Linked DNA regions of Homo sapiens: regions 1, 2, 3, 4 and 6 are each linked to region 5. The links are contacts of gene promoters, found by promoter capture Hi-C in blood cells and fetal thymus (Javierre and others, 2016). All regions are on one chromosome and are shown on one strand. The core of a region is centred on a gene start or on the middle of the fragment in contact, and the rest is flanking DNA. Distances in the headings are between cores, read along the strand shown.

The links. Contacts are between HindIII fragments. The CHiCAGO score rates a contact against its expected background, and 5 or more counts as called.
Region 1: a contact is called between a fragment that was not itself captured here and the fragment with the promoter of NUDCD1 in region 5, in 1 of 17 cell types (M1 macrophages). The highest score is 5.1, in M1 macrophages.
Region 2: a contact is called between a fragment that was not itself captured here and the fragment with the promoter of NUDCD1 in region 5, in 2 of 17 cell types (total CD8 T cells and non-activated CD4 T cells). The highest score is 5.8, in total CD8 T cells.
Region 3: the fragment with the promoter of EMC2 here is called in contact with the fragment with the promoter of NUDCD1 in region 5 in 10 of 17 cell types (naive CD4 T cells, total CD8 T cells, non-activated CD4 T cells and 7 more); the score reaches 32.7 in naive CD4 T cells.
Region 4: a fragment that was not itself captured here is called in contact with the fragment with the promoter of NUDCD1 in region 5 in 6 of 17 cell types (total CD4 T cells, naive CD8 T cells, total CD8 T cells and 3 more); the score reaches 8.9 in total CD4 T cells.
Region 6: a fragment that was not itself captured here is called in contact with the fragment with the promoter of NUDCD1 in region 5 in 1 of 17 cell types (fetal thymus); the score reaches 6.8 in fetal thymus.

The regions. Positions count from the first base shown.
Region 1 is chr8:110,024,227-110,028,720 of GRCh38, reverse strand. No RefSeq gene overlaps it. Among named protein-coding and RNA genes, the nearest start is that of KCNV1, 51 kb to the right of the region's middle. The HindIII fragment of the contact is 219 bases long and covers 2,436-2,654 here.
Region 2 is chr8:108,482,534-108,486,942 of GRCh38, reverse strand. It overlaps EMC2 (ER membrane protein complex subunit 2), which reads right to left. Exons shown (of 11, transcript NM_014673.5): 11 at 1-431. The coding sequence ends at 345. Among named protein-coding and RNA genes, the nearest start is that of EMC2, 41 kb to the right of the region's middle. The HindIII fragment of the contact is 170 bases long and covers 1,800-1,969 here.
Region 3 is chr8:108,441,711-108,445,770 of GRCh38, reverse strand. EMC2 (ER membrane protein complex subunit 2) reads right to left here and starts at 2,147. Exons shown (of 11, transcript NM_014673.5): 1 at 2,073-2,147. The coding sequence starts at 2,112. LOC105375704 (a long non-coding RNA gene) reads left to right here and starts at 2,299. Exons shown (of 3, transcript XR_928530.4): 1 at 2,299-2,401. RefSeq lists a silencer at 2,194-2,313. The HindIII fragment of the contact is 5,303 bases long and covers 1,720-4,060 here.
Region 4 is chr8:108,425,297-108,429,675 of GRCh38, reverse strand. The region is part of intron 1 of LOC105375704 (a long non-coding RNA gene); the gene reads left to right. Among named protein-coding and RNA genes, the nearest start is that of EMC2, 16 kb to the left of the region's middle. The HindIII fragment of the contact is 2,140 bases long and covers 1,635-3,774 here.
Region 5 is chr8:109,331,072-109,335,536 of GRCh38, reverse strand. It overlaps NUDCD1 (NudC domain containing 1), which reads left to right and starts at 1,450. Exons shown (of 10, transcript NM_032869.4): 1 at 1,450-1,644. The coding sequence starts at 1,527. It overlaps ENY2 (ENY2 transcription and export complex 2 subunit), which reads right to left and starts at 1,190. Exons shown (of 5, transcript NM_020189.6): 1 at 1,063-1,190. The coding sequence starts at 1,068. RefSeq lists enhancers at 909-1,158, 424-1,346, 1,529-1,578, 1,709-1,758. The HindIII fragment of the contact is 6,990 bases long and covers 1-2,730 here.
Region 6 is chr8:108,777,005-108,780,994 of GRCh38, reverse strand. TMEM74 (transmembrane protein 74) reads left to right here. Exons shown (of 2, transcript NM_153015.3): 2 at 1-2,021. Among named protein-coding and RNA genes, the nearest start is that of TMEM74, 8.6 kb to the left of the region's middle. The HindIII fragment of the contact is 292 bases long and covers 1,927-2,218 here.

The DNA.
Region 1 (4,494 bases), core at 1,296-3,795, 690 kb before region 5:
CAAAACAGCATGGTACTGGTACCAAAACAGAGATATAGATCAGTGGAACAGAACAGAGCCCTCAGAAATAATGCCACATATCTACAACTATCTGATCTTTGACAAACCTGACAAAAACAAGAAATGGGGAAAGGATTCCCTATTTAATAAATGGTGCTGGGAAAACTGGCTAGCCATATGTAGAAAGCTGAAACTGGATCCCTTCCTTACACCTTATACAAAAATTAATTCAAGATGGATTAGACCTAAAACCATAAAAACCCTAGAAGAAAACCTAGGCAATACCATTCAGGACATAGGCACGGGCAAGGACTTCATGTCTAAAACACCAAAAGCAATGGCAACAAAAGCTAAAATTGACAAATGGGATCTAACTAAACTAAAGAGCTTCTGCACAGCAAAAGAAACTACCATCAGAGTGAACAGGCAACCTACAGAATGGGAGAAAATTTTTGCAATCTACTCATCTGACAAAGGGCTAATATCCAGAATCTACAATGAACTTATCTTTCATTTTCAAATCACTAAAGACAAAGAACAGCTCACCTAAGCTTCCACAAAAGGAGAAAAAAAAGTCACATACATTGGATGAGGGACTAGTAAGGCTTCATATTTCATAGCAAGAAAACTAAAATATATACACAAAAATTATTTTAAATTTAAAATTCTATATCTAACCAAACTTGCACCTGTAAGATATCCCATTCAAGGCTCAGTGCAGGAAACAGAGACAACCATAGTTAGTGTTAACTAGTATGGCAGGGTATCAAATGACTGAAGAAACAGACTTTATGTTGGGCTTTCAGGAATGACTTTGTGAGCTTTGCTAACAAACCAGGCCACCAAAGGACTACTACCTCCTCGTCTATTCAAAAGTTACCACACTCAGGAAGCCTCCATGATCAAAATACACCTGTCCACAGTGGTGCTTTCCAACAAAGCTTGGTGATTCCTCATTAATAAATTTGAAATTTGTGTAAGTGTATCTTATTTGTACAAATTACAGGACTTTTAGAACCCCACTGTGTGGAAGTCTCGAAAATATGATTTTTAGCTTTCCATACACTAAAAGACATTTGGAATTCATGCTGAATAACAAGTCATTGTACCCATGATGCAAAGTCTCAAAAACATATTTCCCAAGTATTCTTTCTCTTGAAGTTGCTGGAGGGCACATTTCATCTCTCTAAACCTAGAGACAGTAAGACATATACAGAAAACAAGAGACACAACAACATGGGCAGAAGATGAGAAGACCTCCCAGGCAAATCCAGGATAACAGCTGTGTCCCAGGCAAGGAGGGCAAACTAGCATTGGAGCAAGTGAGAAAGTTTTGAGAAAGATTTGTTCAGAAAGATGGAACAAATAGAATACCTGAGGTGTCTGCAGTCTTGGTTTTAGTGAATAACCAATTTGAGACTGGATTAATGAGAAACACATTGAAAACTAAGCAAATGATAAACATGACAGTTTCGGTTGGGGAGTGGTGGGAAAGTGAGCAGGAAAGGAAAGTTATCGAAATTTCTACTCACATATATGATATATCCTCAGAAAAGAAAACAAAAAGCATTAACTCCTCTTCTTCTCTGTGGCTTAAAGTTGAAAAACATCAAGGAGTAATAATAAGCATGTTATTTCAGGCATAGAAGCAAGTATTAAAATAACTAAAATTAAGTGAGTGTAATTGCCTTTAGGGAAAGAAATTAGGGGAAAAGAGTGGCATGGATTTCTGTTTTCTGTATCTAATCATATAGAATTGTTTGACTATTACAACTACAAGCATTTAAATGTTGAGTAAAAATTAAAACGTGGGGGAGGATTTGAGAAATAAATTATAGCTCTTTATGTAACCCTATTCTTAAAATAAATCTATTCTACAAAGGCATACAAACATTTTTAAAATTAATCTCACAATCAATTCCTCTTTCAATCTTGGCTACATCTGAAATAGCAAAGGCTGCTACAAGTCTAGAAACAAGATGACATATGATTCAGCAGTAGCTTTAAAAAAGTTCATATGCTATTGGCTTTTGAGAATTCATTAATCATTCACTAGATGGGGCTAACACACTGTGGAGAGGTGATGACTAAACTTCCATTTTGTAAGTAATAACTGCATTTGAAAGGAAATATACTCTGTAGATTTGTTAGGTAAAACTTTGCAATTAGACAACATTATTTAAATTCTATTTTATAATATAAACAGAAATTGTTCACTTGTAATAAAAAGGCAAAGTATTATAGGATTTTAGATTAAAAAAAAAAAAAAAACCTTTAGTTGTTATCTAGTTGAACTTTCCAGTTGTATGTATAGGAAAACTGGTCCAGAGAAAAAGCTCTTGCCTGACATAGAGCTAGGTATAGTGCCCAGGCCAAATATCCAGATCTGCTCAAAGAAAAAAGCCTACTCTCCTGAGCCATATAGGCAAAAAGCTTACATAACGAAAGTGTATTGAGCATTGTGTTGAGACACTGGGTTTAGGGAAGATATAAAGATGAATCAGAATCTCATCCCATTCTGAGGCTCTTGGGAAGGGGTGAGCCTTCACAGAATGTGGGGGAAAATGTAAACAATATGTGGCAAGAGTGCAGGGTTTGGTAAATTAAAAATGGCCAAAAGTTATTTTCTAGTCTTCATATTGAGAGATAAAGCTTAATTTGGTTCCTTTCATGACTGGCCTGGCATTACTGACTTGTTTGGCCTATAGAAGGCAGTGAAAGTGGGATTTGGGATTTCCTTAACCTGGCTTCCAAAGTTATGAAGTCAAGCAGCTTCCACCTGAGCCTTTTAGAATGTTTGCTTTCAGGATGCTTGCTTTTAAAATCTGCTTACCCTCCTGCGAGTTGCCTAAGTGCTGTGGAAAGACCACCTATAGTTGCTGAGACCTAACAAACAAATGAAGAATGCATGCATTATTTTAAAAATGATACTGATACAACTATCTGTAAAAAATCAAAAGCAAAATAGATACCTTTATCCCATTATACTCCCATTATACATTATAAAACATAAATTGCAGGTAAATTATATATTACAATGTAGTACTTAAAATTTAGAAGAAATAACCAAGTGAAATTTCTCTAATCTGTAGATAGAAACACTTTTGTATATAAAAGTAATGAGAAAAAATTACAAAGCAAAATATCTGTCAACTTTAACTATAAAAATAATTTGTTAAAACTTCTAGACATAGAGAAATGACTAGGAGTTAAAAAAAATTATCCAGAATAAAATGTTTCATTAAAAAAAAAGATTAATGAGATATAATTTCCGTCTTAAAAAGAGTGAACAAATTAATGAGAATTATATATATCCAACAAATATAACAGATTCAAAGCAAGGTAAGAGTGTGAAAGAAGAGAGGTTGACTGCATGTTTAATGTGTAAGCTTTTCAAATTAGGAATTAGTCATGGTTTTCTTTTAAAATGTAATCTTAACAAGGGTAGGGTGAGTCCACTAGTGTGTGGGTGCAAGAAAGCTAAACGGATGTTAGACTGCCTTTAAATAGTTTTCTATTGAGAAACCCTATTTCAGCATTGAAATACATAAACTTCCTAATGTTTAATCACTAATATAAACTTTATTAAAATGAAATACATTTTACCCTTATCAAAATACATTTACCAGTTAGATAGGCAAAGACTTAAAAAATTGATAACACTTAATTTTGGAGACTTTGCAGAGAAGCACTCTCATTCACACCCAGTCACTACTGATGACAACATAAACAGGCCTAAACTTTCTTTCTATAAAATTGGAAAACATACATTCTGTTTGAATTGGCATTTAATTTCTGAAATTAATCATAAACGTTGATGTATTAATACACAAATATGCAATGTTTTCTTTACAAGGATATTATATTATAGCATTATTTATAATAGTAAAATATTTGAACCTAAATGCATAACAACTGTAGAGTGGACACAATAAATCTTTACGCTAGTCTCCCCTTGGGTTGTTTACCCACACTTTCATGTGTTAGAAACCATCCTTTACTCTTGTCTACCTGTAAATAACAAAAGAATCCTAGCAGCCACTTTACACAATGACCTTATGCCTTAAACCTCATTAAAATGAGGTGAGTGTAATCACCTTCAGGAAAAGAGTGTAGCAGGGAATGTTGTATTTTGTATCTAATCATGTAGATTTATATAACTATTTCAATTACGTGAATTCATATGTTGGGTAAAAATTAAAATTTGGGGGAGGATTTGAGAAATAGGTTACAACTCTTCATATTACCCTAATTTTAAAATAAATCTGTTCCTCAAAGGCATGCAAACATTTTCCAAAATAATTCCCAAAGAAATTCATGTCCTGACTCTGGCTATATCTAAAATAGCAGAAGTTCAGACCTCACCTAAATTGGTTCAGTGTTTTGTAGACCAGGAAGAGGTTACCAATGACTAGAAAAATAGAATGATTACAAGCTAAATTCCAATACATGATTATTCGTTGAGGCTGCAAATAATTCCTCCAACATCTTTTG
Region 2 (4,409 bases), core at 635-3,134, 850 kb after region 5:
CAAAATGAAGTTAGAATCTTCATATGCAAGTTTAATAAATCATCATGGTTTATTTAACAAGGTTATACTACATTAGAGTTTTATATATATACATGTATATGTGATATGAAGAGACTGATGTACAATCAATAAGTCTTAAATCTCTCTTCCATGGATTTCCCCCATCTCCCCACTTAGCAGTAAAAGGCATTTTTAGGTTTATATAAACACATTCTTTACAACTGCCTTCTTAACAGAAAATTACTGTAGTATATAAATAGCACTGAGCATTTAGTAAATAAGTTACAGGCCAATAAGTTCAATTGTGCAGTTGTGAAATCTAATGTCAAAGAGTTTTTGAAACCTTAAGACTGGGTGATCTGCAATGTTTCCAACATGTCTTCGACAGCCTTAAGAGAATATTTGGTTTCCTTCTTACTTCGACCTGCAAACTAATTAAAAAAAAAAAAAAAAAGCTCAATTAGGCTCAATTTCAGTGGCAGGTTAAAAATGACAATCTTCACACTGTTAATGAAACTTAACATTGACTATTTTATCACTAGTAGGAAATCAAATATATTCTTTGCTTTTTCAATAAGAATAAAATTTGAGTATTAAGGACATTTTCCTTTAAGGTCTTACCTTCAGCTGAAGTGTACAGAGAGTTCACTGCACACTTGGCCAGTTTAAGTGTTTACATAATATAATAACCCATAAAATCATGTATTTGAAACTATCTTATTCAGACCAAAATAATGAAATAAAAAGTATAATTTTAAAATGCAATTTAGCTTATATTTATGTAGTGTAGCAGTGTGAACCACTTCCACTTGTCTGATGTCTAAACAGATTTTTACAATTTCAAACAAAGGTACAATACAAATACAAGTTATTTCACTAAACATTTTAAAGTTGCAAGTACTCTCTAAAATTATTTAAAGTAGCTCATAATTTTTTTTAAGTTTCCAGATTTATTAGTTAACTAAATGATATGGTTCTGCAAAGAGCTGTCAAGTAAAAACCTATGCTACACATTAAAACAATGTAAACATGTTTTAAAATATGCATTTCTACTTTATTAATTGTAATTTATTTACATTATAAAACTAATTGGGATTGGATTTTACTATGAAAACAAAATAAATACATCAATATATACACAAAATATACCCTATATTTGTGTATTTAAAAGCAAATTCATGGCATATTAAATTCAATATCATACACATAACCGCTGGAGGGAAACACTGTTGAATACCACATGCTGATTTCAAAATGAGTTTGTTAACTGGACTGACAATTCCCATCATTTATCAGTCTGATTTAAAACAAAAGATTTACTAGATAAGTAAGTGTTCCTTGATGGAGATGGGAGAAAGTTTATTGTGTGTGTATGTGTGTGTGTGTGTATATATATATACATATATATATTATATATATGTATATATATTAATTATATATTATGTATATATTTTATATATATATGTTACCTATATATATTATATATATGTATATATATTAATTATATATTATGTATATATTTTATATATATATATGTTACCCATTTTCTCCCTGGTTAAATATGATTAAAATACTTGGTATTAGCAACATCTAGTGTTTTCAAGTTAACATCAAACCACTCAATACATTTTCAAGTGAATGATCATTTCTTCAAGTAACAATGCTGTCTTAAGCACTTAGTACTTGATTTATGATGTGTTTCTTGTCTTCTGTAATTAACTTAATTTGGCAAACTTCTCATGACCTGTTCAGAAAGATTAAGTGATCAAACACAGGTAACATCATAGAAGTAACAAGCTTCAGGAATTGGTAACCTGTCTCTGACCCCTCTGGCTACAGCTTAACATTATGATTCCCTCACTTCCTACACTCTAAACCATTAGATTAGTTTCTGTAGCTGAATCCTGATTTGAAAAAGTAAATAAAGGATGTTTCTAGGGGAAATGCCAGAGGAAAAAGAAAAAAAGCTTCTCATAAAAATCAAGATCACCTTGCCTTTCAAAAGGCATCACGAATTTAAGGAATTCATATGTTAAATATGGTAACAGCAATATCACATTTAAAATTTTGTCTTTTTATAATTTCCCCTGAGGACTAAAGGCTGTGAGGCATGCTTATTACTTCTGTTATCCAGTTAATAAATTCACTTACACAAGGATTTACCAGAAACAGAAAGCTTTTTCATTTACCACCATTTATGAAACATAAATAGGAACGGTCCTAATCAGATACTTAAAGGTCTAATTCTGAGAAAAAGTTTTATGGGTTGGGGGAGGGGTACAGAATAGGACATCACATAGTAACATTACCACGTAACATTTATTCTAATTGCTTTTAAATAGCAAAGTAAAAATAAAAAAAATTATGTAGAGCTAAAACCATAACATGTATTTTTAAATACAGTATTTTTCTTGGTTTATACTTAAACATAAAAATAATACAGTGTGATCTTTTAAAATTAGCTAATTTTAAAGAGTCAACTGAGATGGTGTCAACATTACTCACAACCAGTGCAATTTAGAATAAACCAAATAAATTTACTTGTGTCAGAACAAATAAAAGAAAGTTGGAAATACAAATCTATCACTTCAAATTTAATCTGACATGCAATTATTCTGTCTATTCCAGAATTGTATGGCAATTTAACTGATTAAGTCAGAATCATTTTTTCCCTCAAATCATGATTTAATTTTCTGTTTCCCAAAAGGATAGTAACAGAATCACTGCTGCAATCATAAATATCATATAAATCACTAGCACAGATTTACCAGTGCAACAAAGAAGGATTTATCTGGAAAATCATTGTGAGTAGGTTCACATTAAAGTTTTTCATGTGCATTAATCAAATGTGTCTGCTTCTACTGAACATGCTAAACCAATTACCTAATTGACGAGCAAATAGTAGCCATATTCTGTTTCATCATTAAGTGGAAACAAAGAAAGAAAAGCAGTTCTTGAAACCTAATTTTCCCTAATTTATAAATACGTAGAAAAATCCCATACGAAATATTATATACTCTATACCGGTTTATATTCCTAGATATGATTAAGAAATTCTCACTGAGATCCCAAAGATTTACCTAGTTATCAAGAATGTCATTCTCTGAAAGTTATATACTCTTTTACATTATTCACAAATACTGTATTTTTGTTTTCATACAGTTAGATTTTGCTTAAGTAAATCTTTCATAATTCTCTGTAAGATCTATAAGAAAACTCACCAGAAAAAAACACAAAAACAACCAAACAATAAAAACTTGCTTATCAAATTCAGAGGTCAGTGATTCATGCATTGTAATAACTGAGATACCTTGCTTGGGCTTAAATTTACCTTTACATAATTTGTGGAAAATACATGGGTAGACAAAGTAATAGGAAAAATGAAATGGACTGTAAATGAATGAATCTCAAAAACATGCTGAGTGAAAGAAGCCAGACACAGAAGAGCACATAACCTATGAACTCATTTATACAAAGTTATAGCACAAGCAAAACTAATGTTTGGTGATAAAAATCAGATCAGTGCTTGTCTGTCTCCCAGTGGGGGATGAGGTTGACTGCAAAATGGCAGAAGGAAAGTTTCTTGGGTGATGGAAATGCTATTTTGAGTGGGGGGCTGGTAAGGGGATGTACACATTTGTCAAAACTCAGACTGTATACTTAAAATATATGCACTTGATTACATGTAAATTATATCTCAATATACCTCAAGGGGGTCTTGTCACACTGAAGAGACAGGGAAAAGGAAAAACATAATAACTTATGTTTTAATTTCTTTAATTCTCAGAATATTTCATTATGGCCATCTTGCAGAAGAAAAGATACAGCAAGAGATGTTAGGTAATTTATCCAAGTTTGCATAGCTAATAATTATATCAGAGTCAAAATTTGAACCCAGACAACATGGGTTCAAATCTGTAATCTTCTCTTTACTACATTGAACTAGCTTCCATGGACGGGACTCATGATGGAACACAAAGATGGACAGAAACACTGGATATCCATATGGGGAGCAATGGACCCCCTATTTCACATCATACATAAAAATCAATTCCAGGCCAGATGCGGTGGCTCACACCTATAATCCTAGCACTCCATTGGGAGGCTGAGACAGGAGGATTACTTGAGGCCAGGAGTTTGAGACCAGCCTGTGCAATACAGCTGGACCTCATCTCTACAAAAAATTTAAAAGTTAGCCGAGCACGGTGACATGCGTCTACAGTACCAGCTAGTTGGGAGGCTGAGGCAGGAGGATAACTCAACCTGGGTGGTTGAGGGTGTAGTGAGCCATGATCATGCCACTGCACTCCAGCCTGGGCAACAGAACCAACCAGATTCTGTCTTAAAAAAATAAAAATTAAAAATTAAAAATAAATCAATTCCAAATGGGTTGTGGATTAAATACGAAA
Region 3 (4,060 bases), core at 898-3,397, 890 kb after region 5:
TAGGGAAGTGACAGTGAAGAAACAGGCCTGGTCCCTTTCATCTTAGGAGAGACAAAATTTTAAAACAAAACACAATTGGGTAAGTGCTTCAATAGTATTAGAATAGAATACATAATCGAAGGATTGCAGGTGTGTTTTGTTGCTTCATTTTATTGTTTGGGTTTTTTTTTTCAATTTTGGTGGGGGATGAGGAAAGGGAAGGGGGTAGTAGAGTGGTCAAGTAAGGCTTTTTTGTAGTAGGTGAGCTTTGTGGGGAATTGATAAATGATAAAGTTTAATGGGGGCAAGAGTGAGGCAAGGAGGGAAGAACACTCCCAGTGGAAGGACTAGCATGTGCCAGCTTTAAGAAGCAGCATGGCAATTTAGGGTATTCAACAAAGGCCAGCATAGGCAGCTCACAAAGTGAGAGGGAGAAGGGCTCAAGATAAAGCTGGAGACATGGGCAACCGCCAGATCATACAGAGGAAGGACATAATCATATTAGCACTAGCTAATAGTAACACATCCTTTTATATAGTACTTAACAGTTTACAAAGCACTTTAAAATGTTTTCTTTGTTCCTACAAATTTGTGTAGTAGTTATTATTTATTATTCCAAATTAATTACATCAATCCTCTTTAGAATGACCACAGGGTAAGGTCCAATTACTCAGTTAAATCACCTTGTCTGTTGGTAGTATACAGCTACTCGTCCCTCAGGATTTTATATATGCTACTATCATCTAGGAAACCTATAATGAACATACCTTCATAATAGCATTTTCTAAAAATTATGTAATATTTAAAACATTTTTTAAAAAGCATTAAAAATAACATCCATTTATCTACGACTCAGCTTACGGAAGATACCCTGACACAAGCCTTTTAAAACTGTGTGTTTACAGGTTTGTTTTCTCCATTAGATTGTGACTTCCTTGGAAGTGGGGACTGTGTGTTGACAGAGCCAAGATTTTGCAGTAAGAAATCAACACTGTTGTTTAATATAATGGAATCCCTCAATTCAGGTATAAATACTGAGATTCACAACGTGCTAGAGGCCATAAAGTCAATAAATCATTTAATTCAGTTCAAGTACAAAGAAATTTTGCTTTATTTGTAACGGATTTACAACTTTATAATAACTGATATATTTATTCACGATAAAACAGAAAATACAACTTTCGGTCCACATGTTTTCAGGTCATTATTAAAACATCCCAAGAAGGCATTCGTTAAGCAAATTAGCTACTGAAGTCTCCTGTATTATGTTAAATGCTGGGAATATGAATTCCAATTACACAAATTCCACGCCTTAATGAAACTCAAGTTTCTTAAGCACACAGAATTGATCCAAGGTTTGGCTGTTCCCAGATTTAAAGAACATATCCCACTCTAGATCAACTAAGGATAGGGAAAAGTGACCATCACACGTAAGCACTTACGTAGCCCAGAGTTAATTAGTTATTTTTCCCTTCAGAAAAGAAACTACTAGTAGGGAGTAAGAAAGAAGTTGTGTTGTGTGTGTAAATGTGTTTTGAGAAGGAGTGGGACAGAGACTAGACTAAAAGGAAAAGAAACTGGAAACCCGGGTTTAAGAAGAAAACTAAATGTAGAGTGGCATATGAGAATCACATTTGTTCACGCATCTTTTACACAGCTTTTCTGCACAGAGCTGTAATCCTTACACACCACTTAGTAAAGGGCCTTACAGGCCCTGTGTTTCTTGGCTCCAAAGAAGCTTCAGTAACCACCTATTCCGCCTCTTCCGCACCGCCCAGCAACCAGTTAGCGTGCGACAACCCCAGCCCCAAGTCCCTCCCGCCCGCCTCATAAATAAAAGCGGCCCCGGGACGCTGGACTGGCGCGGAGGAGGGCAGGTCAACCGAGGAGCAGACACCGTGGGAAACGCTGCAGAGTACGCGTCCGGGCCAAGGGAAGGGTCAGCCTCAGCCTCCACCTCAGCTTGGCCCGTACAGTGAGGGCTCTGGTACCAAAAAGACACCAGAGAACCCAGCTCCCCGAAAGCAGCGGGTACTCCCGAACGGCTTCCCAGCGCTTTTAGTCTTTCCGCACCCGCCCCCACCCGAAGTTACCTTCCCAAGTGACATCGTAAAGCTCTGAGACCTTCGCCATCTTCCCAGAACCTAGAGGCAGCGGGGTGAGAGGGCGGGGAGACGCAGTCACGTGACCCGCCACCGGGCGGTGGAGAGTTACGTAGCTTTTTCTCATTGGCCAAGAGAGCAGAGGGGGCGGTATCCGCCACGCACGTGCACGCGGCTCTGCGGAGGGGCTTTCGGGGAAGGGGGCGGAGCGAGCTGGGCGGAGCGAGCTGGACGGTGGACGGAGCTAGGTGGGCGGTGCGTGGCGCTCCCGCAATCTCAGGATACCCTGGCTGCTGGCGGGGCTACGGTGCTGGCTCGGGGTGAGGTGTGTGTGTGTGTTGACGTGGATTTTTAACAAATGCTGGGTTTTTAGTGTCCGTCAATCCTGGCTTTTCAGTTTTTTCTACCTAGGCTTGTTCATTCTCTTCACACTCCCTTAAGTACCCTTATTCTCTTCATGGCCGGCCGCAGTGCAGCCTTCTGCACGAATCCCTTATTTGTCCCCAACTTTCCTCCTTCCGTAATGGGATTTGCTTTCCGTTCACTTTTTAATCGACTAAACGGATAAACTCCAAAGTTTTGAGAGACTAAGTGGGATTCTTCCTTTGCGCTCTGAAGTTCCCTTGAATGCCCTCGCGCTAGCTTATACCCTTCATTAACGCTCGTCGTGCCTGTCATTGCTTCATCCATGTCTGCATGCCACACTAGGTTTCAAACTGTCGCGAGTATGTAAGTACTTATAAGGAATGAATGTACGAATGAGACCTTCACAGTTCCTGAACTTCGCTCCTCATTACTCCTGGGTGGATGGGGGAGCCTCCTTTCCCACCAGACTAATTGCTTTTAGGAAACTTTGGACGTCATCTCCTAGACTTAAGGAGAAATGTCTGGACAGGAAGTAAAAAATTTGAGGATGATAAGCGTATATTTAGTATTTGAAGCAATGGGGACATGAGATTGTAGAGGAAATATGTAAGCTGAGAAAAAACTAAAAATCACTGCAATGCAGCCGAAAGTTATTGGTCAGTAAAGAAGGGGCAGTTGATTTGAGAAGTAGAAATAATACTATCCCACAAGTCAAAAGAGTGGAGGGTTTTTTTTCTCAGCTTTATTGAGGTGTAATGGACAAAAATTGTGTATATTTAAGGTATACAAAGTAATGATTAGATGTAAATATACACTGTGAAATGATTACCACAAGCAAGCTAATTAACACATCTATCACCGTACATATTTCCTGTGTGTGTGTGTGTGTGTGTGTGTTGAGAACACTTAAAAATCTCTCAGCAAACTTCAAAGTATACAATACAGAATTATAACTGTAGTCACCATGCTGTACATTCGATCTCCAGAACATATTCATCTTACAACCAAAAGTTTGTACTATTTGACCAACATCTCTCCATTCCTCACCTGTCGGCTCCAGTCAACCGCAGAGGTTTTTTTGTTTGTTTGTTTAAAAAAAGGAAAAAAACCATCAAACCATAGACCCCAGAGAAGTCACTTAACAACAGAGAAGACTAGTGAATGTATATACTTGGATTCAATTCTGAATGAGCTGGCATTCTTTCTAAACAGACTTTTTAAAAATCTTTCATTCAAAAAGTTAAAAAATACTCAGAAATTCACATATTTTAATGCTCCAGTAAAGCAACCTGGTGCAATAGGAAGAACAAGAACTCCCAGATCTGAATCCAGGCTCTACCTTTCAGTAGCTGGGTGACTTTCAGCTTATTTCTCTCTAAACATCAAAAAGGCTCATATATAAAAATCTAATAATATGTGTGTAAAAAGAAAATAGCTACCTTGTGTTGTTAATCAAGATAAAAACAGATGCTGCAGCTAAAGCCCCTGCGTGGCACTCTCATGGAGGTACCATCCTATGTCTAGAAATACTGTTTATATGCTGATCAGTCCCAAACTGATAAACCTTCCCAAAACCCAGTCTGGTTGCTTGACGTACTCAGATAGCTAGCTGA
Region 4 (4,379 bases), core at 1,455-3,954, 910 kb after region 5:
GTTCAACCAGAGTGCACTGGTCTGATGTTGAGAGTTGTTCTGTAAAGCTTCAAATTATGATCATTTAAGATTAGTTACTTGAAACTAACTTAAATAGGCAGTTTTTTTTAAGTGAGAAAAGAGAAAGAAATGATTAATTTGAGGAAGAAAAATTACAGTATTAATCAGTAAAATTTAAAAGTATTTTGCTGAAAGACTCATGTAGCTGAGCTTCTGAAATATATCTTTGAATTACCAGTGGACAAGCCTATAAGGAGACAGTTGTTTTTGAAGAAATTGTCATTAAGGAATAGACACCCAGATGAAATTGTAGGCATGCAAATAATGATGTGAATGAATACATAACAAAAATAAGGACACGCCATTTCTCACAGTTACTGCCAAAGAGAAACTGTGTTGAATTAGTTATTTTTTCAATTGTAGCCAACATACTAAAACACTGATATTCTTAGAATCCTAAAACTTTGGCTTGATTTCTGGCTTCATCAGTTATTGACAATGCGATCTTGCATAAGTCCTTGACTGTCACATTTGATAGAAGGTAATAATACCTATCTCAGAAGGTTCGTAAGAAGATTAAATGTGAAAATATCTGAAAGCACATATTACCTGAGTAAAATAAATTTTAAGTGGTTAAAAATAAACATGAATGTTTTAACCACTTAAAATAAATTTTAAGTGTTTAAAAATAATCACTGCAATGAAGTCATCACTTCATGAATGATTTCTATTTTCTTTTCCATTCATCATTCAGCTGTGGTACATGATGATCTAGCAAATCGTGTAATATTTTATTGGTGACTATTAAATAGAAGTCTCGTGTAGATTTGAAATAATATTTCAGAAGAAGCAAAGGTAGTTTTTATTCTTTATATTTTTATCCACACTTTAATCCACCTACTTTATATTTGTAAAATCTAAAGACAGTTGTCTTGAATTTTCAGCCAGATATCCAGAAAGCCCAGATGGTTTCCTACCCTTATAAAATAAGCATTTACCTACTCTAAACTATCTTTTCTACGAAGACTTGGAATGAAATGAAATTGTAAACACTCCTGTTTCATGTCTTTTGCCACATATAACCTAAAATGAAACCTCTTTAACCAATAAAATCCCTGCTGATAAACCCTGCTAAGACACAGGGTTTTTCCTCCCACTCTTCTTTTTGGAATTTTTCCCTTAATGTCCTTAGGCGGGAAAGCTGAGATATGAGTGTCATTTAACATAATTGTAATTTAAAATTGTTTTCAGCTTTAGAAGGAAATGACAATTTTCAAGAAATGCATATTTATGATATTTTAATGGGGCTAACATGCTAGTTCAAGTATCTTGCATTTTAGAATCTAATATATTTCTTCCAGCCCATCACTGTATAATCTATACTATTTTCTAGACATTTTAGTTCTAGGAAATTTTCTTGTGTAATTCCTTTGATGATTTCACTCCCTCATTTTCTTGTTTGAAAGCTGGTTTTTTTGTTAGATTGTCTGAGTTCTTTACTCTCTGTCTCTTGTTTTCCATCTCTTTTACGTTTTGTTCTACTATCTGGGAAATTTTTTCACATTCTCTTCTAAATCTCCTATTGATTTATTTACTTACTTTTTTGGCTATCCTATTTTTTATTTCCAAAAGCTTTCCTTGTTCTCTGTTCTGTTTTTATAGCATGCTGTTGTTGTTTTATGCTTGCAGTAGTTGTCTGTATTTCATATTGAAGACTTTCCTTAAATGTCTTATGATACTTAGCTATTTCATATTTAAGTGTAAGACTCTGAAATGCTGTATGGAAGCTCTATATGTTTGCGAACACGGTGCCTCAACTGTATAATGATTGGTAATTAAGCTGCTTAAAAAAATAGTATCTCCCAAGCATCAATTTGAATAGATCTTTTCTTTGGGGGTCATTTGGTTCCTCAGAGAAGAATTGTCTTCTTCTCTGTATTAGTCAGGGTTTTCTAGAGGGACAGAACTAATAGGATAGATATATTTATAAAGGAGAGCTTATTACATATTAACTCACAGGATCATAAGGTCCCACAATAGGCTATCTGCAAGCTGAGGAACAAGGAGAGCCAGTTTGAGTCCCAAAACTGAAAAACCTGGAGTCCGATGTTCGAGGACAGGAAGCATCAAGCACAGGAGAAAGATGTAGACTAGGAGACTAGATCAGTCTAGTCTTTTCACGTTTTTCTGCCTGCTTATATTCTAGCCACGCTGGCAGCTGATTAGATGGTGCCCACCCAGGTTAAGAAGGGTGGGTCTGCCTTTCCCAGCCCACTCACTCAAATGTTAATCTCCTTTGGCAACACCCTCACAGGCACAACCAGGATCAATACTTTGCGTCCTTCAATCCAATCAAGTTGACACCTCGGTATTAACCATCACATTCTCTCTTAGTGCTTGTGTTCCAGGAGCAATGTAGAGGAATGGGGCTGGTGTTCCAATAATCACTAGGAAAACTTGGACTTAATCCCTTTGGCTTCAGTCCCTTTTCCCTGCTCATACTTCACTCTGACCAGTGCCCCTGTTCCAGAGCTTCTCATACCTAATAATTCAACTAGAGGTTAAGACATTGGTATCCTGCAGAGTGAAAAGTCAGAAGAAAACAGGGAAGAAATCAGTTAGCTTAGGGTTGTGAGACAGGAAACAAAATCTGGGCACCTAGCCACTTTCAACCATTCTCCTTGTTTTCAGCAAACTTCACTACCAACATCCCAACACCTTGTGCCTCCATGTCTTAAACCTTTCTGGGTGTCTGGAGGGCAAATAAGACTAAAAAGAAAAAGGAAAGGAAGGATATATCTTGTAGATAACTTTCTATATAGGCACTGGGTTATAGCTTCCTTTACTGGGCACTACTCTCCATCAGCTTTCTATCTCCAGAATTTTGTTGAAATTTCTCATCGTCTTTCTTTTTCTTCATTTTTGTTATATATATTTTTTTTATTCCTTGTTTCTAGTATTCAGAGTTGGGAGAAAATGAATTTATTCCATCTAAGCCATCTGGTGTGTGGTGTTTTGTTACATCTGCCCAAACAAACTAATACACTATATAAGACCAAAAAAAACAAAGGGGGTAGAGGAAGAAGAATATAATTAAGTCAGTGGCACATGCTGTCCCAAGATAAAATGCATTTTTTCTTAAAAATTAATTTTACCAATATTGATGGATTATTTTCTGGAAATAGAAAAAGATTGGTAAACTTATTAATTTTTTTGGGGGGTGGCTTCAGGAGGATGAGGAAATAGAGGCAGGTTTAACCAGACGTTTCTTCCTTACTTCATGAAGTATAAATTTAGATTCCCTTCTTAAAGATGCTTCTGTTCCTTATTCTTGCCAGGTCATGAATTTATCCCCAAGGTATAGTACTTTAGTGATTTCAACATGAAAAAATCAGCATGAAGAATTTTCCTAAATTGAAGAGAAACTCAATTACAATATCTTATAGTTTTGCTCACTGAAAAGCATGGGATTAGCCAGCAGGAAAAAACACACCATAATAGTGATAGCCACAGCTGGCACAGTTATGAATTTTTAGGCAGTGAACACACTGGCTCAATGAGTGGAACAATGATTCAGTTAATTTGATCAAGCTGAGTGATGGATCTCTGGGGACATCCCCAGAAGAGGAGAAGGAATATCATGTGTTTGCCACTGATCCTATGAAATGTGGCTCTACCCTTAATTGCAGCATTAAAAGTGAGTACAGAATTTTAGTTTACCATAGTCACTATCCTCCTGGGAGTCATCTGAAGTTTTATACATTGTGTAAAGCTTTAAAATAACTTTATTGGAGTCTGAGGAAAGTCTGATTATAAACTATGTGCTAATGTAAGTAGTCAGAAAGGTAGCTTAGTCCTATTTACAAAATAAGCCTATCCTTTTTCCTTAATTTCACCCTGCTTCTGCCACCTTTTATAGATGCAGGCAGCCATGTTTACAGTACTTGAAAAAGCATTGTGCAATGATGAGCTTAGGCCTAAGTCAGTCTTCTTGAAAATCCCTTACAATTTATGCTGATTTTTTGAGTCTCCCAAATTCTGATGCACATAAATTTCCATCTGCTGTTCTCTTTTTTATGTATAGCATAATTTAAACTGAAAATTTAAACTAAAGCAATCACAATTAGAGATAAAGTAAAATAAAACATTAAATTAGGCTGGGTTTGGTGGCTCATGCCTGTAATCCCAGCACTTTGGGAAGCCAAAGCAGAGGGATCACTTGAGCTCAGGAGTTCAAGACCAGCCTGGACAACACAGGGAGACCTTTTAAGTGGCCATTCGAGTGAAGAATAGGAAGACAAAAGTTTTAGACCTAGCCATATTTTTCTAAATTTTTATTAGTACCAATTTCACAGGGTTGCTAGACTCAAAAAAGAATA
Region 5 (4,465 bases), core at 201-2,700:
AGAAAAATAAGCTGGGCTTGGTGGCAGGTGTCTGTAATCCCAGCTACTCAGGAGGCTGAGGCAGGAGAATCGCTTGAACCCAGGAGACAGAGGTTGCAGTGAGCCGACATTGCGCTGCTGCACTCCAGCCTGGGTGACAGGGCAAGACTCTGTCTCAAAAAAAAAAAAAAAAATTAATTAATCAAAAAAAATAAAATTACTAGATAAGGCTCTAAGTGTTTTGCTTTACTCTTCACTAGGATGAACCCACAATTACAACTGCTAAACCTAAGTGTGTGGATGTGTGTGTTTACACACACACTGCTGGTGGGATAAGAAGAAAACAAATCTCAAACTAATTCCTAACTTACAAAGTCCTCAATTGTCAGTAAAAACAGACAACCCAAACCAAAATGATGTTGAAAGAAGAGGAAAGTTAGGTTTTGAAAGCGTTAAAGCCACTTAAAAGTTTAAATTAAATAAAACTTGGCGTAAACTAACGTTTTCCCACCTAATCTGTCACTAACTTGAGATTACTTTTGTTGTCTTCCATCTGGCCTATTGAAAATTCAGACTGGCAATGAGTTACCAGAGTTGATTTTTTTTTTCTTTTTTGAGAGGAACAGGGAAAAGGAGAAGTTGAGTGAGAACTAGGAAATGCTTGCTTTTGTAATTGGAGGCTAACATTTTCAAAATAACTACAAGGTCTAGTCAGTACCACTCCTGGAATATTGAACTTGATCTCGTCTTGGCTCCTAAAATACGGATAGTGACCTTGGACAAGTCACTTAATTCTTAAAGGCCTCAGTTTTCTCACTGGTAAAACAAGGGCGCTAGGGTATCCCTCCCAGTTCAGACATTCTTAGGGAAAATAGAACAGGGCGGAGACAGCGGGAGAGGCGGGAGAGGAGGAGCCAGAAAACAAAGCGAGGACTGGTTTCAGGCCAACTCCGGTAGCACGCCCTGTCGGAGAGCCCTACAGGCCCGCGAGCGCGGGTCGGGGACGCTAACGAAAGACAGTACATCGAAAGGAGCCTGGGCTGGGCCCGGGTCCCGGCCCTGAGGACCACGGGCATAGCTCACCACCATCACCGCGGGCGAGGGCCGTCCCTTCCCAGCGACGAAATGACCCTTGCGCTGAGGACCGTTACCTACCACACTCTTCGGCTGCCCGGACTTAGACCCTCAGTAGCTCGGGCACCTAAGCACACAGAAAGCTAGAACACGCATTTCCGGGGCGGGGTCTCGCCACCCTGCCTATAATGTGAGAATTTAACCAGCGCGGGCCGCCTCCTGGTTGCTAGGGCCTCTGGGTAACAGAGTTCAGACCTTGCCGTCGCGCGCGCGTTAAGTACCAGGAGAACTACATAGCCCAGCATGCAACAGTCTCAACTTTTTCACGGACACTACATTTCCCAGAAGGCAGTTCGCACCGCAGTGTTTTCTGGGATGGGAACCACGCCGCTTCCCAGTCTCTGTGCGAGGCGTGAAGCGCGGACCTTTCAACAAGGGCTTTATTAATTCTCACGCTGCGGCCCTGGAAAGCGATGGAGGTGGCGGCTAATTGCTCCCTACGGGTGAAGAGACCTCTGTTGGATCCCCGCTTCGAGGGTTACAAGCTCTCTCTTGAGCCGCTGCCTTGTTACCAGCTGGAGCTTGACGCAGGTGGGAAGCGGCGGCGCCCTTCGTACTCCGTTCCTTTCCCCTTTCGGCTGCCTCCGGCCTGACCCTTCCCGCAATTTCTTTCTTTCTGACTGGCAAGCGAAGCCACCGTGGCGGCTTGCGTGGACTCACGGAGGCCGCTGCTTCTGGGGAATGATGCCCATCCCAGAACCCGGTGGGAGCCGCCTTCGCGCGCTCTTCGGTAACGGGACCCTGGGCCCCCTCCGTCAGCAGCCCAGCCTCTGAGGTCTGAGGTCTGAGGGCTGGCGTGCGGGTAGTGCCTGGGGCTCTGGCTGCTGTGTGTCCACAGCCTGGCTTCTGTTTCGGGGGACGCTGAGAACATTCCTTCCTCCTGGAGCATCGCTTGTGAACGTGTGCGTTGAGAAACCACACCTCCTTGGAGGACCCCCAGTTCCTGTTTCCTCTGACCGAGAGCCGTTTCTTAGAAGAGAAACTACATTCCAGTCATAGCATTTTTAATTACTCAGTTCCTGGCACATTAAGAACTCTGGTAGAGAACATCTCTAGAAGATAGTGAGGAAAAGTGGATTTACTCCCACACTGCTACTCCTTGCTTTATCTGTAGCTGGTAGAATATCCTTACTCTTGTTTTTACAACTTAACGGCATTTTCGTTATGATAGAGCCCAGAGATCTGCATTTTAAAATTCACACCCCTGCTGATTCTGATGCATGTTTTCAGAGATCACACTTTGAGAAATAGTGATCTACAGTTAATTATAATAACAGACATTAAAGTATAAAATAAGTTTATGCTAATTGATTTATTAAATTCAGAAATATTTACCGAGTACCTGTTTTGTGTTACGTCCTGATAATATCAAAATGAACAAGACACCTTCCGTAACAAAAGAGGACTATTAGCTAGTTAGGAAGAAAATTGTAAACAGATAATTGTAAAACAATATGGGAAGGCAGTGATAGGGATATGTACAAAATACAATGGTAGTACTTGAATATCTTTCCTAAACTAGTCTGGGGATCTGGGAAGGCGTCTTGGAGGAGTTAATATCTAAGTTGAGCTTTGAAGGGTAGGTTAAGAGTTGACTAGGATGAGAGAGGATAAGCTTGATTTTTCTTTTTATTTTTTTCCTTTTCCTCTTTGCCACCGTGTTTCTTCCAGTCACCCCATGTCAGTAGATGGTATCACCATGTTTAGTTAGTGCATTAGAAAGTGAAGCCAAAATTCAGTGTCTCAAAACAAGAAGCAGTTATTATTGCTCACAAGTCTACGGGTCAGCTGAGTGGTTCTTCTAGTCCTAGTTGGGCTCATTGATGCATCCTTGTTCAGTAATGGATCTGCTGGGAAGCTCTGCTCATTTGGCTGGACTTCCTCATATGTTTGGAGGGTGGGGGTAGGGTCTCAGACTATAAGCTTGTTTAAGATTCTTTCACATGGTCTCCTCTTGACTTTTCTCCGTGTGGTCTCTTATCCTTTAGCCGACTAGACTAGCCCAGGTTGGTACCAAGAGACACTTGTGCCAGAGTCATTTGGGGTTTATTTCTTTTAGCCACTGTCTGCTTGGTAGCAAGTCCGGTCAGCTCCACATTTTGATATCTCTAGGCCTCCACCCTAATCCAAATCAGAGTTATCTCTTACCTGAACTCTAGTAGCCTCCTGACTAGCCTTCCTGCCTTCACTTTTGGGCTTCGTCATTGCATTCTCCATAAGACGTACTTATCGGCCTTTTAAATTCTATCTTGATTTGTTGTCTGTTTCCTCCACTAGACTATGAGTTCCTTGAAAACAGTGATGTTTTTCTTTTGTTCACTACCCTATATCTAGTGCTTGGCACATAGGATGTATTCAATAAAATGAGTATATGAAGAAGAGAAGAAATTGTTGAGGTCATTCCATTCATGGGAAAGCATGAGGAAAGGGAAATAATTAGTAGGTTGTATGCTGGACATCCTTGCACTCTTATATTGCTGGAGCAAAACGTCTGGGAAAGTGAGAGGAAATAAATCAGTGAGGGCCTTGTTTGCCTTTTGGATTTCTTGGATTTCCGGTCATTCAGTGTTTCCCTGACATTTTTGTATTGAGCCATTACAATATAAAATAAAACTCAGCTGCTGTAGTTCTGCCAACTTTTCTGTTTACTAGGTGGAGATGTTTCTTAAAAACTATCATTTACTCATCTATCTTTTCATAAACAAAAGGATATTTTAACACCAAAAAAGCAGGAAGCAAAATCTCACAATAAACAATCCATTGAATACTTTAACTTTAGAAAAAATTCACAAAGTTGTCCTTGTTCCGTACTCATTTCATCAGCGTTAATCTTAGATTCTGTGTTTGGGATGTACAGCTGCAGGATATCAGGTGCCATTTGAAGATTTTTTTTTTTTTTTTTTTTTTTGAGTCTGAGTCTTGCTCTATTGCGGAGGCTGGACTGTAGTAGTGTGATCTCGTCTCATTGCAACCTCTGCCTTCCGGGTTCAGGCGATTCTCCTGCCTCAGCCTCCCGAGTAGTTGGGATTACAGGCGCCCGCCACCATGCCCAGCTAATTTTTGTTTGTTTCTTTTTGTTTTTGTTTTGTTTTTTGAGACGGAGTCTCTGTCGTTGAGGCTGGAGTGCAGTGGCGCGATCTCAGCTCACTGCAACTTCCGCCTCCCGGGTTCAAGCAGTTCTCTGCCCCAGCCTCTGGAGTAGCTGGGATTACAAGTGCCCGCCACCAAGCCCAGCTAATTTTTGTATTAGAGACGGAGTTTTACTATCTTGGCCAAGCTGGTCTTGAACTCCTGACCTCGCGATCCACCTGCCTCGGCCTCCCAAAGTGCTGGGATTAACAGGCCTGAGCCA
Region 6 (3,990 bases), core at 823-3,322, 560 kb after region 5:
AGGCTCCTAATATCTTTATAAGCCAGTTCTTTTTAGGGCACCTTAAACTGTTAGTGGTAGAGTTTGCAAAGAGTTTTCTTTGCAGCGCTGTGTGTCCTTCCCACCCATTGGGAGCTCTTAAAGCAGATCACATAATAAGATGTACTGGCCCCTCATATAAAGAACAGCTTTTCGTCATGCTCCCCACTGTGTAGGTGATTTATAGTTTACAGGAAGACAAGACTGCTTGGAACCATGAAGTTCTTGGAGGCCATGGTTGCTTTTACCCACATGACTGCTATAACCCTTGATTCTGTTCTATCAAGTTACTTGCCTTGATATCATCACATGCTTTGCTGTCTGCTTAAAATATGAGTTCATCCCCCTCATACTTATTTGTTTTAGGGACCCAATTGGACCAGTGCTGGCACATGCCCTTCAAGGTACAATTTCTGAAAAGAGACTGCGCTGCCAAACTTATGTGTGCCTTTACCTCAGTCCCCCCAGTATAAGGGGTGACTTAATCTTGATAAATGAGTGACTGAGCACCATGCTAGTTAAATATTGAGAATTAAAAGCCTGAACCCAATGGCTCTATTTTTTTTTACCACCTTCTGACAAGCAAAAATTCTAGGCAGGAGCATGTGAACATTTTGGTCTTCATCTTTCACGTGTGCAATGATAGGTGTATGCAAAATTTTACTTGGATTAATTGTCAAGTTAAAAAAGTGTTCTATATGTATATCTCTTAGGAGAAGGTTTTTCAACCTGAAGGTCAGATTTCATTGCAGCAATTAATGCCATCAAAAAAACGTGGTCTGACAAAAAAGATTCACAACCTTTGCCAGTGGTTCACCTATTACAGCAAGATGTAATACTATCAATACTTACTGTTCTCTGTAATGGGTTTAACCTTTCCCAGAATTGGACATAAAGAATGACTACGATGAGAAGATTATAATGAAGTCTTACTGGCTTTTCCTAGTCTAAAAAGAGTACTTAAGAAAGAGAATTAACATATCATTTCCTTTTGGCTGATTTTTAGCTATATCTGTTTTTGGTTCATAATATTCTATATTATCATCTCACAAATTTTATAAGTCTTGGGAAATAATTTGCCTGCCTAGTGAATTGACACTGTAAAAAGCAAGACGTTATTTTAAACACATAAAACTAATTTCAAGAATCTGTGGCTTACACTCAAGAGTGTACTCGTGGTTTATGTTTGTGTGCAGATTTATGTGCACTCAAGTCTATGTGCATTTGGACTATATTTTATAGTTATACAGCTTTAATATCCAAAGTTATTGTTAGAATAATTTTATTATAGGAATTTGGCATGCCTTACTATTGACATTAAGAAGAAGAGAAGTCTTTCACAAGTCATGAATGAAGAATTTGGAATCAGCCTCAGAATGAGATGCCATAATTATTATAAACCTGTTTTGGTTGTTCAGCCTCCCACAAATATTTATTAATTTGTTTTTTAACCTCTCAATTTCAGGCTCATGAGAGTGTGAGATATTTGGAAATTATTTTACCGTGAATTGTTATTTTATTTCAGGGGACTATGGGGAGTATATTCCTTTGTTTCAAATTTGGGTAACTCTCCTGTGTTTCAGGAACAGCTCTCCCTATTTTTTCACTGCCATCTTCAGGCTTCCTAGCCAGGCTCCAAACAAATGTCATATAAGAAAGAAAGATTAATTATTACATATTGTGTATTGAGAGTTTGTACCCTGTGGTTCTCATCGTGCTGTTAATTTTACTTTTCTTGCCAAACAAAAATAATTTGACATTGATTATGTGCTTTTTGATATTTTCAAGGGCAATTATTAAGGTTATGAGCTCTTTCTTAGGGCACTTGATGCCTTATATGTTAATAGCAAGTGTGTCATATCATTTTAAAATAAAACTATTCAAAGGCTTTATTGTGTTTATTAAGCTTAATTTAAATTGGAATCTGTAATGCTGATTTGGTCTTTTAAAATTATATTTGAAATTATTTGTCCAAAAAAATTAAAATGAATATTTACCCCTAATTTAGGTTTGTCATTCTTCTTGCTACCATTTCACTATATAATGTAGACTGTGCCTTATTTTTTGTTGTTTTATAGGAAATAGTCCAAGTTATTTGGGTTTCTCTAAATTACTCAGTATTAGAGTACACATTTTATGATATGGAAAAATACATGAATAAATATTTTTTAAAAACACTTATCTGAGTGTCTAGAAAGCTTTTAGGTGAGAAACAAGTATCAAATTAACTTATGCACCTGCTTTTAATCTAATTTTGATCTCCATTTTCATTTGAAGAATGTATCACAATTTATATTATTAACTGGAATTTTATCCTTATTATATATAAGTGCTGTCAAGGTCAAAAACTCTAAAGAGACATTTGGAAGTGAGGCCCCATATCTTGCTCCATCTATTTTGAATAAAAATTGGATCAAGATTCTTATCTACATCCTTTATAGGAAGAAAGTCTACTTCTTTCGATATCTGTTTTTTTCTAGAAGTTCTTTTGGCTTTTGTTAACCACCTCTGATCATTCGGAATAAGCTAAGTGATGCTGTTACATTTCCACAGTCTCTCGCTATATGACCCTTGCAGGTCAGCAGTCAAGGGGACCCAGTCTGATGCAGCCACCTTTTTACATGTCCCTGGTTGCCAAGCTAGAGGGGAAAAGAGTCTGAAAGGTCTCAAAGAGACACTGCACCAGGTCAACATGTATTTAGTCAGGACTAGTCATATAGTCCCACTTAAGCCAGGAAATGCAGTTCCATCATGAGCCCTGAAATGAGGAGAATTGGGACTGTTTGGCAAATGACACTAATGACTACCAGAATTTCTAAGGTCTTTGTTTTGTTCAAGCAGAGTATGTATCAATGAACATAAATATTCTCATCTTCTCTAATGATCACTTGATCAATTTAATATTAATACATTTATACTGGGGGCCAAAAATGCTAAAGGTCTCCAGAGAAGGCAAATTTAGTAGATCTTTATTAAATGCTTAAAAAAAAATTGTCACAATTATACTTTAATATATTACCTATATGATTTTATTGTATTATTTAATCATAAAAAAGGAGATTAAGCCAACATTTGTCCTTTCAACTCATGGACAGGAGGAAGTGCTTACTTTCTTGGGTTCTTACTATGTATTATTTAATTTATACCTCACCTCATTTAATTCTCACAGCATCTCTGCAAGGCAAGTGTTATCTGCATTTTACAAATGAAAAACTAAAGCTGGAGAATGTCAAATAACTGGCCAAAGTTATATAACTAATAAGCGGTAGGAAAAGAATTAAAATCTGGGACTCCTTCACTAAAATTATATATTAAGTTTAGAAGGAATATGACCCTTATAAAAACATCAATTTATACTGGCTGTTTTATTTTGCGCTTATTATTTTATAAACTAAAGAAAATAGCAGGCTTGTGATCTGAGAAATAAGGAACCCTTCCTATAAAGAAATCATATCACTATTTTGCTTTTAGGTAATATAGTGATTTATCAAAATATATGTCAAAACTATCAACTCACAGCCATCCTACTTCTTACCCCTAATGAGACTCAAGTAAGCTTATGCTGACACTTTTCCTTGGAATTGAAAAGAAAATGTAGTTACTCTTTCTATGTGCACAACAGTGAACATAGAGTTTATGTAGTCTCCAGTAAGGGATCCAGGGACGGAGAGAAAGTCACATTTGAGTGCTTACTATGTGCCAGGCATTCTGCGTTCATGTGCAGTATCTTGCATAATCTCCACAACACGTCGAATAATAAAGGCTTCAGAACCATGGAGACAGATGATCTGAAGTTTGAATGCCTGCTCCTCTACTCTTGTAATGACATCTGATCCAAGTTTCTCCATCTGTAAAATGAGAATAATACTGTTTGCCTTGCAAGACTCTGATAGAACGTAAATAAGAAAAGTTAGAGAAAAATGAAAACAAATCCTTTTCTGGTATACCATCATAACAGCTACCATTATCTTG